5 separate regions of the Homo sapiens genome follow, and all the other regions are linked to region 5. The links are contacts of gene promoters, found by promoter capture Hi-C in blood cells and fetal thymus (Javierre and others, 2016). All regions are on one chromosome and are shown on one strand. The core of a region is centred on a gene start or on the middle of the fragment in contact, and the rest is flanking DNA. Distances in the headings are between cores, read along the strand shown. Region 1 has its middle 69 kb from the start of RBM46. Region 2 overlaps RBM46 (RNA binding motif protein 46). Region 3 overlaps RBM46 (RNA binding motif protein 46). Region 4 overlaps DCHS2 (dachsous cadherin-related 2). Region 5 holds the start of MAP9 (microtubule associated protein 9).

Region 1 (2,700 bases), core at 58-2,557, 530 kb before region 5:
GATTGGTTTTGAAATGTGAGCACATGAGATTTGAGAGGGGCTGGGGGTGGAATGATATGGTTTGGCTGTGTCCCCACCCAAATCTCATCCCAAATTCCCACGTGTTGTGGGAAGGACCCAGTGGGAGGTAATTGAATCGTGTGGGCAATGCTGTTCTCATGATAGTGAATAAGACTTATGAGACTTATGAGATGTGATGGTTTTAAAAAGAGGAGTTTCCCTGCACAAGTACTCTTCTCTTGTCTGCTGCCATGTGAGATGTACCTTTTCCCTTCTATCATGATTGTGATGCCTCCCCAGCCATGTGGAACTGTAAGCCCAGTAAACCTCTTTCTTTTGTAAATTGCCCAGTCTTGGGTATGTCTTTATCAACAGTGTGAAAACAGACTAATACACATAGTGAGGCCAGAAAATTGTCAAAAGCATCTGGATAGAAATTACTGGAACTAGAATTCCAGGGTCTTGTAGAAGATTATTCTGTGTCCTGAATCATAGAAAATTTCATGATTCTTCTGTTGCCCAGTATGCCATAAGTGTAGGTGAAAATATATTTTAGACTAACATAAAAATTTTAAAAACTGTTTATATAAGCTAAGCCTCCCTTCACATTTAAACATTCCTCACTGTCCCCTATTATACTATGATGGTAACATTCTAAAATAAGCAATAGGAGCAATTCTCAAGAAAGATAGGAGCAGCTGGCTGTAAGTTACCTCTTGCCCTTAATTTGAAAAGTTTCATCCTTGAATATCTTATATGTTCAATTTGTAAACCTCTTATATTCACATACTCAGCAGATATTTAATTTATGCCTACTACCTGCAAGTGGTAATCAGTGTTGGATATACAATGATGAGAGTGCACTGTCCCTCTTCTCATGGGGTGCAGCACTGACCAATCAATATATAAGTCCCCTTGAGTCAAAGCTTCTGTATTTCTCAGTGACAGGGATATTCCTGAGAACAAGTGTCTGCATCAATATCCAGTCCTCAATAAACAAGGGGAACATCAGGATTGCATGAAATCCTATAGAGCACAAATGTTCAGGTAAATTACCTCTGCTCTGATTATGTAACTATGTACCTGTTCCAAAAGGGCTCTGTAGAATCTTTTCCAACAATAGGTAATGCTTAAAAACGATATTCAGAAAACACGTAAGAGAGGAATGCAAACCAAATTGTCATCCACTGACATCCTGGCCTTTTAAATTCCTCAACATGCCACTGAAATAGTACAAGTGATTAACTATCTGGGGTGCCAGTAAACAATTATTGATAATATGCTGTGTGAAGTAGGAAAAGTAGTTTTCTAAGATGAGAAGGAGGCATGGTATTTCAGTTAGAAAAAATAGTATATGCAAACATGGTATTGTGAGATGGCACAGCACTTACAGAGAATTAGAAGAAGTTTGGAATGAAGGAAGCCTAAATTGCAGAATTAGAAGAAGGTGAGAATGAGATAATCAAACATAAGCCTGGAGAGGAAGGCAGAGATCAGGTCAGGAGGACATTTGTGAGCTTGTTCTTCGTTCTGTAGTTCATGGGAAACAGATAACAGCCTTAAATAGAGAAAAGAAGTAATATTATTTGAATTTCTGAAAGTCACTTTAGTTGCCAAGACAAGTCCTGGAAGACTTGCAGAAGGCAAGTTAGTAATGAGTGACGTCTTGAGGAAGAGATTCCAGTTAGGAAGCTTGTTTTAGTAATCCAGGTGATAGATGGATAGCCTGAACTAGGACATAGCAACTGAGGTAGAGGGGAAAGGATGGGTTTGAAAGGTTTGGGAAGGGATTGGCTATAGACATTGGGGATGAGAAAAGAAATCAGGAGAAGCTTTAGTTTTCCTACTAGTAGAATTAGGTGGTATGCAGGGTATGCTATATTGGCAATGAGTTTTATTTATGCTCTTCTTTATTCCCTCCTGTATTGTAAGGGCAGAGAGGCTAAAAACTACATTTTCCAGATTCCTTTGCAGTGGTGGTTCTGGGTTTGATTCAGGTAGTGTGAATAAGATGCACTCACAGGACCCCTGGAATTTGAAGGTGAGACAGAGGCCCTCTTTCTATTGCTGTGCTGGCTGGTGACAATAGTTAAATATACATGTTTTCAGTAGCAGATGGCAATTCCTAGTGTCTAGTCATGAACTTTGTGGGTGTGAGGCACTCGTGGTGGCAGTAGTTGTGGTAGCAGCAACACCAGCAGCTACCTGATTAAATTGCAGCTGGGGGCAAGGGGGTGTGATCTTGAAATCCAAATTGTCCATGGGTGGGCTCCTTACTTATGTTTCTGTCTAGCAATTTTTTCAGCACCCAATTTCTTGTGCTAAGTCCCCTTCTGTGTGAAATATCTAGAATGTTTTCTGTTTCTTGTGCTGAAGCTTGACTGGCATGGTTGGGAGTCAATATCTTGCTATATTTGGTATGTGGAAACCATCTCTACTAAGTTGCTGGTTATGTTCATCAGTCACTGAGTATCTGAAATTTTCACCTTTCCAGAGAATTAAGCTGAGACATTGAAACCTATGTAGGTCAATATAGGTGAAGTGTCAATTAGATCAGAAAAAATGCTTAAAAATTTAGAAAATACCATGAGATTCTTGCCTTGCAATGTGTTATACGCTGCTAATAAAGATATACCTGAGACTGGATAATTTATAAAGGAAAAGGTTTAATTTACTCACAGTTCCACATGGCTAGGGAGG
Region 2 (2,700 bases), core at 47-2,546, 560 kb before region 5:
ATGTTTTGATTTCTTCTTGAATCTTCAGTATTAATTTCTAAATATACATTTAATGTCCTTGCCGATAGGCTTGGGATTAAGTCTCTCATTTTGCCATTTGCGTTCTGTTTTCTCTGCTTGTTTTATTTTTTCATTTCTTGCCTTTTTTTTATACAGTGTTTATTTTGACTTTCTTTTCTTTAGCTGTATTAGTTATTCAGTCTTTAATCTCTTAGTCCTTACTCTATAAATGCCAACATGCATTCCTAACTTACTGAAGTCTAATATTAATGAGTATTTTATCACATCCTAGATAATACAAGGAACTTAGTACACTTTGACTTCTTTCATTTCTTTTACAATTTATGTAGTGTCATTGGTACTTATATATATATATTTAAACCTTATACATTTAAAACCCCACAATGCCCAATATAATAAAAACATCTAGTTATAATCGTTTTTATACTTAATATACATTGATATTGATTTACACATTTATCATTTCCTTTGCCCTCTGTTTCTTCCATCTCTAAGCTTCCACTAGAATTGTTTATTTATTCTACCTAAAGAATACTGATTCATATTTTCTTTTGTGTGGATATGCTTATGACAAATTATCTCTATTTTCATTTGTCTGAATGTATTCTTAGTTCACCTGCCATTTGAAAGGTTATTTTTGCTAGGCCAGCAGTTATTTTACTTCAGCCCTTTGCAGTAGTTATGATTCCACTGTCCTTTAGCTTCTGTTGTTTCTCTTGGGAAATCTGTTGTTGATCAGCTTGTTACTCCTTTGAACATACATTGTGCCATCATTCCCTGTACCCAGCTACTTCTACTATTTTCTTTTTATCTATGATTTTCAGAAGTTTTACTATTATGGATTTGACTTTTGTATAGTCTTCTTAGTTTTCATCTTGCTTGGTACTTTCACCACTTCTGAAGTCTAGATTAATGTATTAGTAAGTTCTGCGTTATTGTGTTTTCAAATACTGCATTTGTTCATTTTCTCTCTTATTTATGGTAATCCAGCTACACATATGTTAAACCTTTTTACTGTAACCTGTGTATTGATTATATTTCTTCTGTATTGTCCATCCTTTTGTATGTCAGTCTGTATATTTTCTTACCTGTCTTCTGTTTTGTAATTTTTTTATCTGTAAAAAATTTAAAAGGTTTATCCTAAGAACCATTCATTTAGATTCATTTCTCAGTTCTAGAATTAAATTTGAGTCTCTTTTGTGATTTCTACTTCCTTCCAAAAATTTTAGTCTTTTATTTTCTTGAGTGTATTAGGCATTGTTATTTCAATACTCAGTTCTGAAATTTAATGATCTAAATACCCTGTGGATCTGTTACTGTTGTCTGCTGTTTCTGTTGGTTTTAGGTGATAGTAATTTTACCTCCTTGTATGACTGGTTATTTTTTATTCAATACCAGATACTGTGTATGAAAAATTGTGGAGACAATTTGAAGGCTAGCACGATGTTATATTTATTCATAGAAGATTTATTTTGGCTTCAGAAAGGTGGCCAAAGGACTGACAAACCCAGATTGCTTTAATCTAGGCAGGAATTGAAGTTAAATTTAGTCTCTGTTAAAGTTTGTCTGTTTCTGGTCCATTTTTACTCAGTTCCAGTCATTCCTTGTTAGTAGCTCTTTAGTTCTAGTTTTTGTCTTCCTAGCTTCATTTGTCTCTTGGCACCTTCTGTTAATTCCCAAGAGGGAGCTTTTGGGAATTGGCCAAGCCTTCCAGAGGAAATGCACCTCCCAAAGAGGTGCACATACGTTTGGGTTTTCTTCTTGTCTGAGATCACAGCCCCATAATTCGTCACTGTCTTGGTTCTCAGTGATTTGAAACAAATGTTTTTGTTTTTAATAATTTCTTACATTTTCTAGTTCTTACCAAGAGGGTTGATTAGTGTTACCTAGTTCATCATGTAAAAACAGAAGATATTGTGATTATTTTTATACTGAATTATAATCTTTAGATGGTTATTTTTATATCTAGTTTTCTATAGGTTATCAGAAATTTTTCATTTGTTTATACTTTTATACACAATTTCTTAGCATAGATTTGGATATACATCCATAACAGAAAGCTTTAAGGCATATGAAGAGGTAACCACTAAAATAGATGGATGCCCACAGTTGTACTATATATGACTAAATTAGATTTCAAGTAGATAAAATTTAGCTGTTGGGAAGAAAGATTTAAGTTTAGTATTATTTTGGCCATCTATCTTTTTTAAGACAGCAAGGAAATGGTGTTTCATATGTAAAATAACTACACCTTATACAACATTTCTATTTCCCAAATTTACTTAGATTCTTTGGCTTTCTGCTTATCAGAAATTGGGTGATCTCATTTGTTTTTAGAGTCTCTTCTTTATCTTAGCAGGGTAGTAATATTTAGAAAGATAAACGATAATTTGTTTAGAAAGATAAATTTTTTTCTGATAATGTATTAATCATAATTTTCATTCAAATATCAAAATACTCTTCTCTTTGTTCATCTTTATAGAACTCCAGAAATAACTATTTGCCCCTTACTTCTTTTTCTCTAAATTTGTTTTTTTATTTACTGATCAAAAGGTTTTTAACTAAAGTTACCAAGGATTCCATGCACTTCCAAGATAGGGATAACATCAATCTAAAGACTCAATTATTTTCTGTCTTCACTGCTTACAGACAGGGAACACAATCTCTTCAGCCTGGACC
Region 3 (2,700 bases), core at 150-2,649, 580 kb before region 5:
TAACCAAATTTATTGATGTGTAGTTGAGTTTCTGCTTCTCTGGGGAAACAGTTTTACTGAACATCTTTACCTTTTATTCTTTATTTTAATTCTCTTCAAATTATTATTTTTTTTTTACAGGAACATTCCAACTATGGGGCCACACCATTCAGGTAGATTGGGCTGACCCAGAGAAAGAGGTGGATGAGGAAACCATGCAGAGAGTTAAAGTTCTTTATGTAAGAAATTTAATGATCTCAACTACAGAGGAAACAATTAAAGCAGAATTCAATAAATTTAAGCCTGGTGCAGTTGAACGGGTAAAGAAACTTAGAGATTATGCTTTTGTTCACTTTTTCAACCGAGAAGATGCAGTGGCTGCCATGTCTGTTATGAATGGAAAATGCATTGATGGAGCAAGTATTGAGGTAACACTAGCTAAACCAGTAAATAAAGAAAACACTTGGAGACAGCATCTTAATGGTCAGATTAGTCCAAATTCTGAAAATCTGATTGTGTTTGCTAACAAAGAAGAGAGCCACCCAAAAACTCTAGGCAAGCTGCCAACTCTTCCTGCTCGTCTCAATGGTCAGCATAGCCCAAGTCCGCCTGAAGTTGAAAGATGCACTTACCCTTTTTATCCTGGAACAAAGCTTACTCCAATTAGTATGTATTCTTTAAAATCCAATCATTTTAATTCTGCAGTAATGCATTTGGATTATTACTGCAACAAAAATAACTGGGCACCACCAGAATATTATTTATATTCAACAACAAGTCAAGATGGGAAAGTACTCTTGGTGTATAAGATAGTTATTCCTGCTATTGCAAATGGATCCCAGAGTTACTTCATGCCAGACAAACTCTGTACTACGTTAGAAGATGCAAAGGAACTGGCAGCCCAGTTTACATTACTTCATTTGGGTAAGTTTAAAAATACTTTAAATGATGTATAATATGAAATTAGGAAATACTGTAGATTATTTTTAAATTCATTTATTTTGAACTCAACATTAGTGGTAAGTATGTAACATAAATTTTATCTCAATTTTATAAAGTCATGATAACTTTCTTGAAACTTGTGCCCTGTAAAATCTTCCTACATTTAGCTTTTCTTTTTTTTTTTTTTTTTTTTGAGAGATGGAGTCTTGCTTTGTCGCCTAGGCTTATGTGCAGTGGCATGATCTTGGCTCATTGCAACCTGTGCCTCCTAGGTTCAGGCGATTCTCCTGCCTCAGCCTCCCGCGTAGCTGGGACTACAGGCACGTGCCACCATGCCAGGCTAATTTTTTGGCTAATTTTTTGTATTTTTAGTAGAGACAGGGTTTCACTGTGTTAGCTAGGATGGTCTCGATCTCCTGACCTCGTGATCTGCCCGCCTCGGCCTCCCAAAGTGCTGGGATTACAGGCGTGAGCCACCGCACCTGGCCTACATTTAGCTTTTTAAGCATTAACCTGTGGGAAAATTTGGTTTTACTGTAGTGTTCATAACCCTGTTTTATTAATTTATTGTTTTTTTAATGACTAATTCTCAGTTGAAATAAAAATTTTTTGTATAAGTTACAAGATATGTTCATTAAACCAATTTATTATAGAGTGTCCCTGCATCTTTGGTGAAGTCTACATAATGATCTTTTTGAGGGGCAGGGGATAGGGAGTTAGTAAAATCAGTGGGATTTCAGATGGGTCGTGTGTAGACACAGCTTTATGCTCACCAATCTGGAAATTTGTCATTATCACTCATGAAAGACAAAAAGCATCATTAAGAGATGTTTGTGACCATTCTCTTTTTAATTTCATGTTTTTCAAAAAGTAAATTTTCTTTAAAACGTTTGAAGGATAATTATGAAAGGCTTTGCAAAAGCATAGAAAGATATGCTAACTAAATATTTGACGTTGTGAAGGAAGAGACATAATATCACTATGGTGTTTTCCTACTTTCTGTTTTTTACTGTTAGGTTAGCCTCCCCCCTCCTCCACCCCCCAAAACCTGTTTATTTTTTAATGCGGCTATAGATTTTAGTGATGATTACTTTGTGTCCCAAATAATATTTATTGGAAGAGTAGTGGTTTCCTGAGAATCAAATAAAAGAGAAAGATCTTTTGAGTGTTATCATTGTTTCTTGATTATAATTGTGAAACTCTTCACTGAAAATTATTTTTTATATGGTTGCAGAACCATAGTACAGAAGCTTATATGTATTTAAAATTCATATTCTCAAGTTTAAGAGAAAACAGTCAAGAAAAACATTCTCAAAAGGGAGAATAATTTTTATATATTGTTTAGGCTTGCTTTTATATATTGTTTAGGCTTACCATAGCCACTGCCATAGTATTAGAAATTTTTTTTTTTTTTTTGAGATGGAGTCTGTCTTTGTCACCCAGACTTGAGTGCAGTAGCATGATCTTGGCTCACTGCAACCTGTCTCCTGGATTCAAGCAATTCTCCTGCCTCAGCCTCCTGAGTAGCTGGGATTACAGGCGCCCACCACCGTGCCCGGCTAATTTTTGTATTTTAAGTAGAGACAGGGTTTCACGACGTTGGCCAGGCTGGTCTTGAACTACTGACCTCAGGCGACCCGCCCTCCTCAGCCTCCCAAAGTATATTACAAATATTTTTAAGAGATTCTGATTTGGAGATATCAGCAAAACTTGTGGGACTAAAGGTAAGGTTCTGCTTGAAGACACATTTAAGCAGTGTCTTCAATTATTAGTTTGGAG
Region 4 (2,700 bases), core at 38-2,537, 960 kb before region 5:
CTGGGGTTTATTATCAAGACTCTTCTCCTCCCTACAAAAAAATAACAATAAATTCCATATGGCAGGCCTTTTTTCTTATTCACCACTATCTCCTCAGCTTCTAGAATAGGGCAGATAGAGGGCAAACAGTCAATAAATATTTCTTGAAGAAATAAATCAAATAAATCAATTATATATATATATATATAGAGAGAGAGAGATATAGATATATGTTCCAATTCAGAGTGATATCTCTTTATGTTTAGAAGAAGATTCGAAAACACTAGCTCAGTTACTAATCTACTTTTTCAAGATTTAAAACAAAGTACTAACTCAGAGCTTAAATCTAGCATTTCTTTAAACCCAATCAAAACACAAAATGCTTAACACTATAAATTATCCTCCTAGGTTGAGTTTCTAACATTAAAGGAAGCAAAGCAGAAAATTCCCAGAGAGTATAATATAAAGTGAAGACAAAAAATATCTCCATACAGCTTTCTTTTTTTTTTTTTTTTTTTTTTTTGGCCAAGGGACATATGATAACTGCCAAAAATTAGGCCGTAATTCAAGAAGCATTCCTGACATCATTGTACACTTGTTTCTCTACTCAAAACACAAATTTATCACTAACTGTCACTGGACTGCTATCCAACTACAACTTCCCCATCTCATGCATAAAACTATGCTTTTAAAGTACTAAAACATTAATACCCACCAAGATGGGGGATAGGCCTTTTCTTACATGAATATGTAAAAGTTGATTTAGGTATTCGTGATAGAGAAGTGAAAGGAAAGACTGAAAATGAGACCTTGCTCACCTCTTTCCTAAATGGGATACTGCAGGTTATAAGGAAAATCAAGAGTGGACAGAGAAAAGGGAGTTTAGAATGATCTGAACCTGTGTTGGCAGTCATGCCATTGGGGAACACAGCCATTCAACAGTGGAAGTACTTGCCTTCCTTGACAGCTGCTAAGAAGGTGATGCCGCGGCTACAGCTCCCAGATGAGCTCATGTGGGTATGGCAAAAGGTTCACCCCTGTAACATACTGTCCTCTTTAGCAGCTGTTCAACTGCCTAACACATGGCTATTTTCTCTGCCTAAATCAGTATCATTTAGTTATACTACTGAAGACCGGGAGGGACCTGATATAACTGATGCTATTTGCAAATTAATAGATGAGGGAACTAACCATAAAAATTTTTTCAGAAATCTGATACTAATTTGAACAGTATTTTCAATCAATTACAAGGATTCATTTCTAATCTTCTCTCAAATATTGATGAAACATTTCATAATTTGTTTTGACTTATACATAGATTTAATTGCATATACATTTAATTGGAGCCCATGACTCATTAGCAATAGAATTTCCTAACTTGCTCCAAATTTTCAGTAGCCTCAGGTTTCCCAGAGACCCAGCCTTTCTCAGTTGCCATGGATTTCCTGCCTCTGGGGGTGCCACCACATTATTACTTAGAGGCATTCCTACTCCTAAATCTGCTCTTGAATGAGCTGGCATTTGACAGAATTCCTCCTTTTTGGAGAAGCAACCAGAGGCAGTCTGAGATTATTCAGATATTTATCTTTGACTTCCGGTACTGGGGGAAAGACAGAAAGACTTAGCTAAAGAATCTCAAGTAAGCCTGACCTTGGGTACTGGAGACCTAAAGCTACGGTATCTCCAGGTCCCGAGCGTCAGTAAGATGGAGCTAATTAGGAGGAAACCGAGGTCGGTGAGGAAAATGACTATGAGATCAGATTCAGCCCAAAGCGTGGCCAGGAATCAGCTCCACCCAGAGGTCTCCAAAAAGTGGCAGAACACTCTGAGTTTTCTCCAAGGGAATTGATGGACAGACTTGTAGGAAGAAAACATAAATTCACTTAAATAAGTTTTTTACCTCTTCCATTTTATTATTTTTTAAATATTTTTATCTTATATATTTTAAATTCATATTTTATCTTCTATATTCATTTTTATTTCATGTATACATTCACATTTATACACCTGTATACAAAATTCTTGCACGTGGTTTATAAGGAAATAAACATATACTGGAGATGAGTACTCAAAACTTTTATTAATAGGTACATTCAGTCCAAAAAGTTTGAAGGCTGATGCAGTAGAACTGAGATGAGCACAAGAGAAGGGGTAGGAAGAGGGCGCTAAGTCAAATGGTCATGATCAGCTGTCTGAAAGTTGGGGAGATCCCACAGGAAGAGAGCCCAGAGACGGGGGACAGGATAGGCCCCGAGGACAGCCTGGAAGGAGGGTCCACACCAGAAACAGAGGAGCACAGCTGCATCAGCCCCGTCTTCTATTTCCTGCCAGAGGGACGCAGTTGACCTCACAGCGCCCCCACCTCGCATCCCAGGATCATTAGCAGCTGACAGCGCAGGGAGGCTGTGTTTATCCAACATCTTTTCTTTTTCTTTTCCTTCAGGCCTCTGGTGTTATTCCCCACCCGACGAGGAATACGTCTTCCTTCTGTTATTAAATCTTCAGGCTCCCTGAGTCCTGCTCCTATTGTTTCCTCTTTTGTGCCATCTGATCCTCCAAACACCTTGTCCTAGGCTCTAGCCGGACATTTCTGACATCTCAAGACTTGAGACTTTGATTTCTGAGCCCCTCAGATCACACGGTAACTCCACCCACTTTCCTAAGCAACCAACTTGGTACCACAGAAGAGGAACTGGGGAAAATCAAACTGAATAAAAACAC
Region 5 (2,700 bases), core at 33-2,532:
CTGCTTTATATAGGACTGTTCTAGAATCACCAATTTCAACCCATCTAATACAGTGTTTACACTGTGAAATGATTCCAAATAAAAATACTTTACCTGGAAAGTAGTTCTTTTGGTAACTTTTGGACTCTTTGTATATGCCAAAGTGGTGCTAAAAACTTCATCAGACATAGTGTATTTTTTCTCGTTACCTTTATAAAATAGCTAATTATTAGAATTCAACTTCTGATAGTAGCTGAAATATACAAAACAAATCAGACTTCGCATGCTTCAGAATTTATTTTATTACATTTGATTCTACTCTCCCCACAAAGGTCAAAGAAAAGCATCTGATATGAACATTGGGCTACATCTTCACTTAAAAAGGTTCTTGTAAAGAAATAGCAAATTCTCATAACAAGCTTGTTTAAAAAAATTCAAATGGAAGTTATCCTAAAATAGTTTTGCAACTACTTAAAAAGTCTGCAAATAAATGATTACAAGTTAATACGACAAAATGCTGCCAATTAAAATAGAACACCTTATTTTTCACCTCTCTTCTAAAGTATAACATTGCCTTCAAAATAAGTCACGTCTTATTTAAAAGGCCATCAAAAGGATCGTCGGCGTAAAAATTATGAGCACCACCACCAAAAAAAAAATGTATCTATATATTTGCATACAGCGCTATTCAAAGAAAAAGATCGTAATGCTAACCCGCAAACAGCCAGCGAGATGTATTGCAAGCCAATTTTTCCTCTCACAAAAGTGTTAAAGAGAGCCAGACAAAACGACGAAGCTTTCGCGATGAGCCGCATTAAAATCGCGGTTTCCCGTACTCGGAGCAGAGGCCTGGCAGGGCCGCCCATAGCGTTGTGCGCCCCGGGTTCCGTTCCCTACCAGGCCAGGTGACGTCCGGGTGCTCGCCGCTCCTCACCGCGCCGTATGCTGAGCACCAGCGAACGCCAGGCCCGTGCACGTCCAAGCGCGGTCTCTGTCCGGATCCCCCATGGCCCCCAGGTCCCGCTTTCTGTTCCCGGCCCCGGACGCCCGCGGCCAGTTCTCCGCGACCCTGAGAATCAAGAGCCAAGCATCGGGTAGGAGCTGCTCACCTTGGTCTGGGCCTGGCGGCGCCCGCAGAGCCGGTCCTGGACCGAGCGAGGAGGAGGGGCTAATAACAGAGGCGGAGGGCGGTTGCTAGGAAACAGCGTCTTCGGGAGGAAGTGACTTCCCCACCGCCGGGTCTCTCGGGTACCCAACACCGCTCTTCGGCCCAACGTGTCGCTGGGGCAACCACCCAGACGAAGGAAGTGACATCACCTTCCTGGGTCTTTGGAGAGGGGCTCATTATTGGTCGCTTGTGTGCATGTGCTGTTGCCTAGGAGACAGGACCCGCCCAACTCCCACCCAGATAGCCTTACTCTTGCCAATAGAGTAAGGGTCCTTATCTGCACGTGTTGCAAATAAAGCACATTCGTCGTTTTGCCACAGTTAGGACGTGAAGTTCTCTGAATCGAAGTACGGTGTCAGTGGATGGGACAGAATAGTACGGTAGTGAGTTTGCAGAACCCTGTTTCCGACTGCAGGTTTGAATCCTGGTACCCCTTTCCTACACACGTGATTGTCCCAAGTTAAGGTCTTTATGACTCAGTTTCTTCTTCTGGGGGAAAACAAAAGTGTACTAATAATAGACACCTGAAAGGTTGCTGTAAAATTGAATGAAATAATACAAGTGGAACACTTGGAAGAGTGCCTGGAATTGTATTCGATATTAGATATGCTCTTCATGCAACTAAGCCGCAAAGGGCCTGGAGAGACCTCAGCTCTTGTGGACACAACTGAAAGCCCATTTGACATCTTACTTGAATGTAAAACTCCCCCTCTTTGTATACTTAGTGAGTAATCTTATTCCAATCAAACCAAACAAAATGATCCACTAGGCTAAAAGAGCATGTGCTACTAAAGTAAACAAAATCAACATCATTTAATTCGCATAGGAAATTCTTAAAGCAAATAAAAACCAAAAACGTTTATTGAAAGTCTTTAAAATAATATGAATTTTTACTATTTTTAATTTTTAAAAAGCTTAATCCTAGTTGAATTATCTGAATGAATTCATTGACTAGTAATTAAACTCATACCTGGTATTTTTTCCACATCTCTAAAATATGTTAATATTTCACTAATTCAATTTTGTATAAACAAATCACATTGAGATAGAAATTTAATAAATCAATGTATTGAAAAACTAAATGTGCATAACAAGAAATAAGAAATTTAGTAAAATACAATGCTGTATTAATCAGGGTTCTCTAGATGGACAGAACTAATAGTATATATATATTATATTATATATATTATATAATATATTATATATATAATATATATTATATAATATATTATATATATATGTCCACTCATCTGTATCCATTTATGAAGCTGAAAATGTACACCACCTCTACACACACATACCCAGAATAGAAAATGCTCCCTATTTTCTATTAACTCATGGCACTACTGTTGAACCCTTCCAGGTTCACCTCATGCTCCTGGAACCTCCTTTCCACTGTAAAACATTCTCTCACTTTTTCCTCTATAATCGCATTCTTATCTTAGCTAAGCAAAACTATTTTCTGAATAAACTATCTCCCTGAGGGCTTTTCAAATAGGGACTGCTGTAGAAGGAAGATTTCTAAGTTCTCCTAGGTCCTCACATACTCAGTG

Evidence for each region. Contacts are between HindIII fragments. The CHiCAGO score rates a contact against its expected background, and 5 or more counts as called.
Region 1: a contact is called between a fragment that was not itself captured here and the fragment with the promoter of MAP9 in region 5, in 1 of 17 cell types (endothelial precursors). The highest score is 5.0, in endothelial precursors.
Region 2: a contact is called between a fragment that was not itself captured here and the fragment with the promoter of MAP9 in region 5, in 1 of 17 cell types (endothelial precursors). The highest score is 7.8, in endothelial precursors.
Region 3: a contact is called between a fragment that was not itself captured here and the fragment with the promoter of MAP9 in region 5, in 1 of 17 cell types (endothelial precursors). The highest score is 8.5, in endothelial precursors.
Region 4: a fragment that was not itself captured here is called in contact with the fragment with the promoter of MAP9 in region 5 in 1 of 17 cell types (total B cells); the score reaches 6.5 in total B cells.

Annotation. Positions count from the first base shown.
Region 1 is chr4:154,849,089-154,851,788 of GRCh38, forward strand. No RefSeq gene overlaps it. Among named protein-coding and RNA genes, the nearest start is that of RBM46, 69 kb to the left of the region's middle. The HindIII fragment of the contact is 766 bases long and covers 925-1,690 here.
Region 2 is chr4:154,817,693-154,820,392 of GRCh38, forward strand. All of the region lies in intron 4 of RBM46 (RNA binding motif protein 46), which reads left to right. Among named protein-coding and RNA genes, the nearest start is that of RBM46, 38 kb to the left of the region's middle. The HindIII fragment of the contact is 1,565 bases long and covers 515-2,079 here.
Region 3 is chr4:154,798,662-154,801,361 of GRCh38, forward strand. RBM46 (RNA binding motif protein 46) reads left to right here. Exons shown (of 5, transcript NM_144979.5): 4 at 121-903. Among named protein-coding and RNA genes, the nearest start is that of RBM46, 19 kb to the left of the region's middle. The HindIII fragment of the contact is 1,539 bases long and covers 631-2,169 here.
Region 4 is chr4:154,414,010-154,416,709 of GRCh38, forward strand. All of the region lies in intron 1 of DCHS2 (dachsous cadherin-related 2), which reads right to left. Among named protein-coding and RNA genes, the nearest start is that of DCHS2, 76 kb to the right of the region's middle. RefSeq lists enhancers at 2,185-2,404, 2,692-2,700. The HindIII fragment of the contact is 5,217 bases long and covers 1-2,700 here.
Region 5 is chr4:155,375,683-155,378,382 of GRCh38, forward strand. It overlaps MAP9 (microtubule associated protein 9), which reads right to left and starts at 1,283. Exons shown (of 14, transcript NM_001039580.2): 1 at 1,089-1,283; 2 at 94-232. The coding sequence starts at 168. RefSeq lists an enhancer at 736-1,165. The HindIII fragment of the contact is 1,286 bases long and covers 774-2,059 here.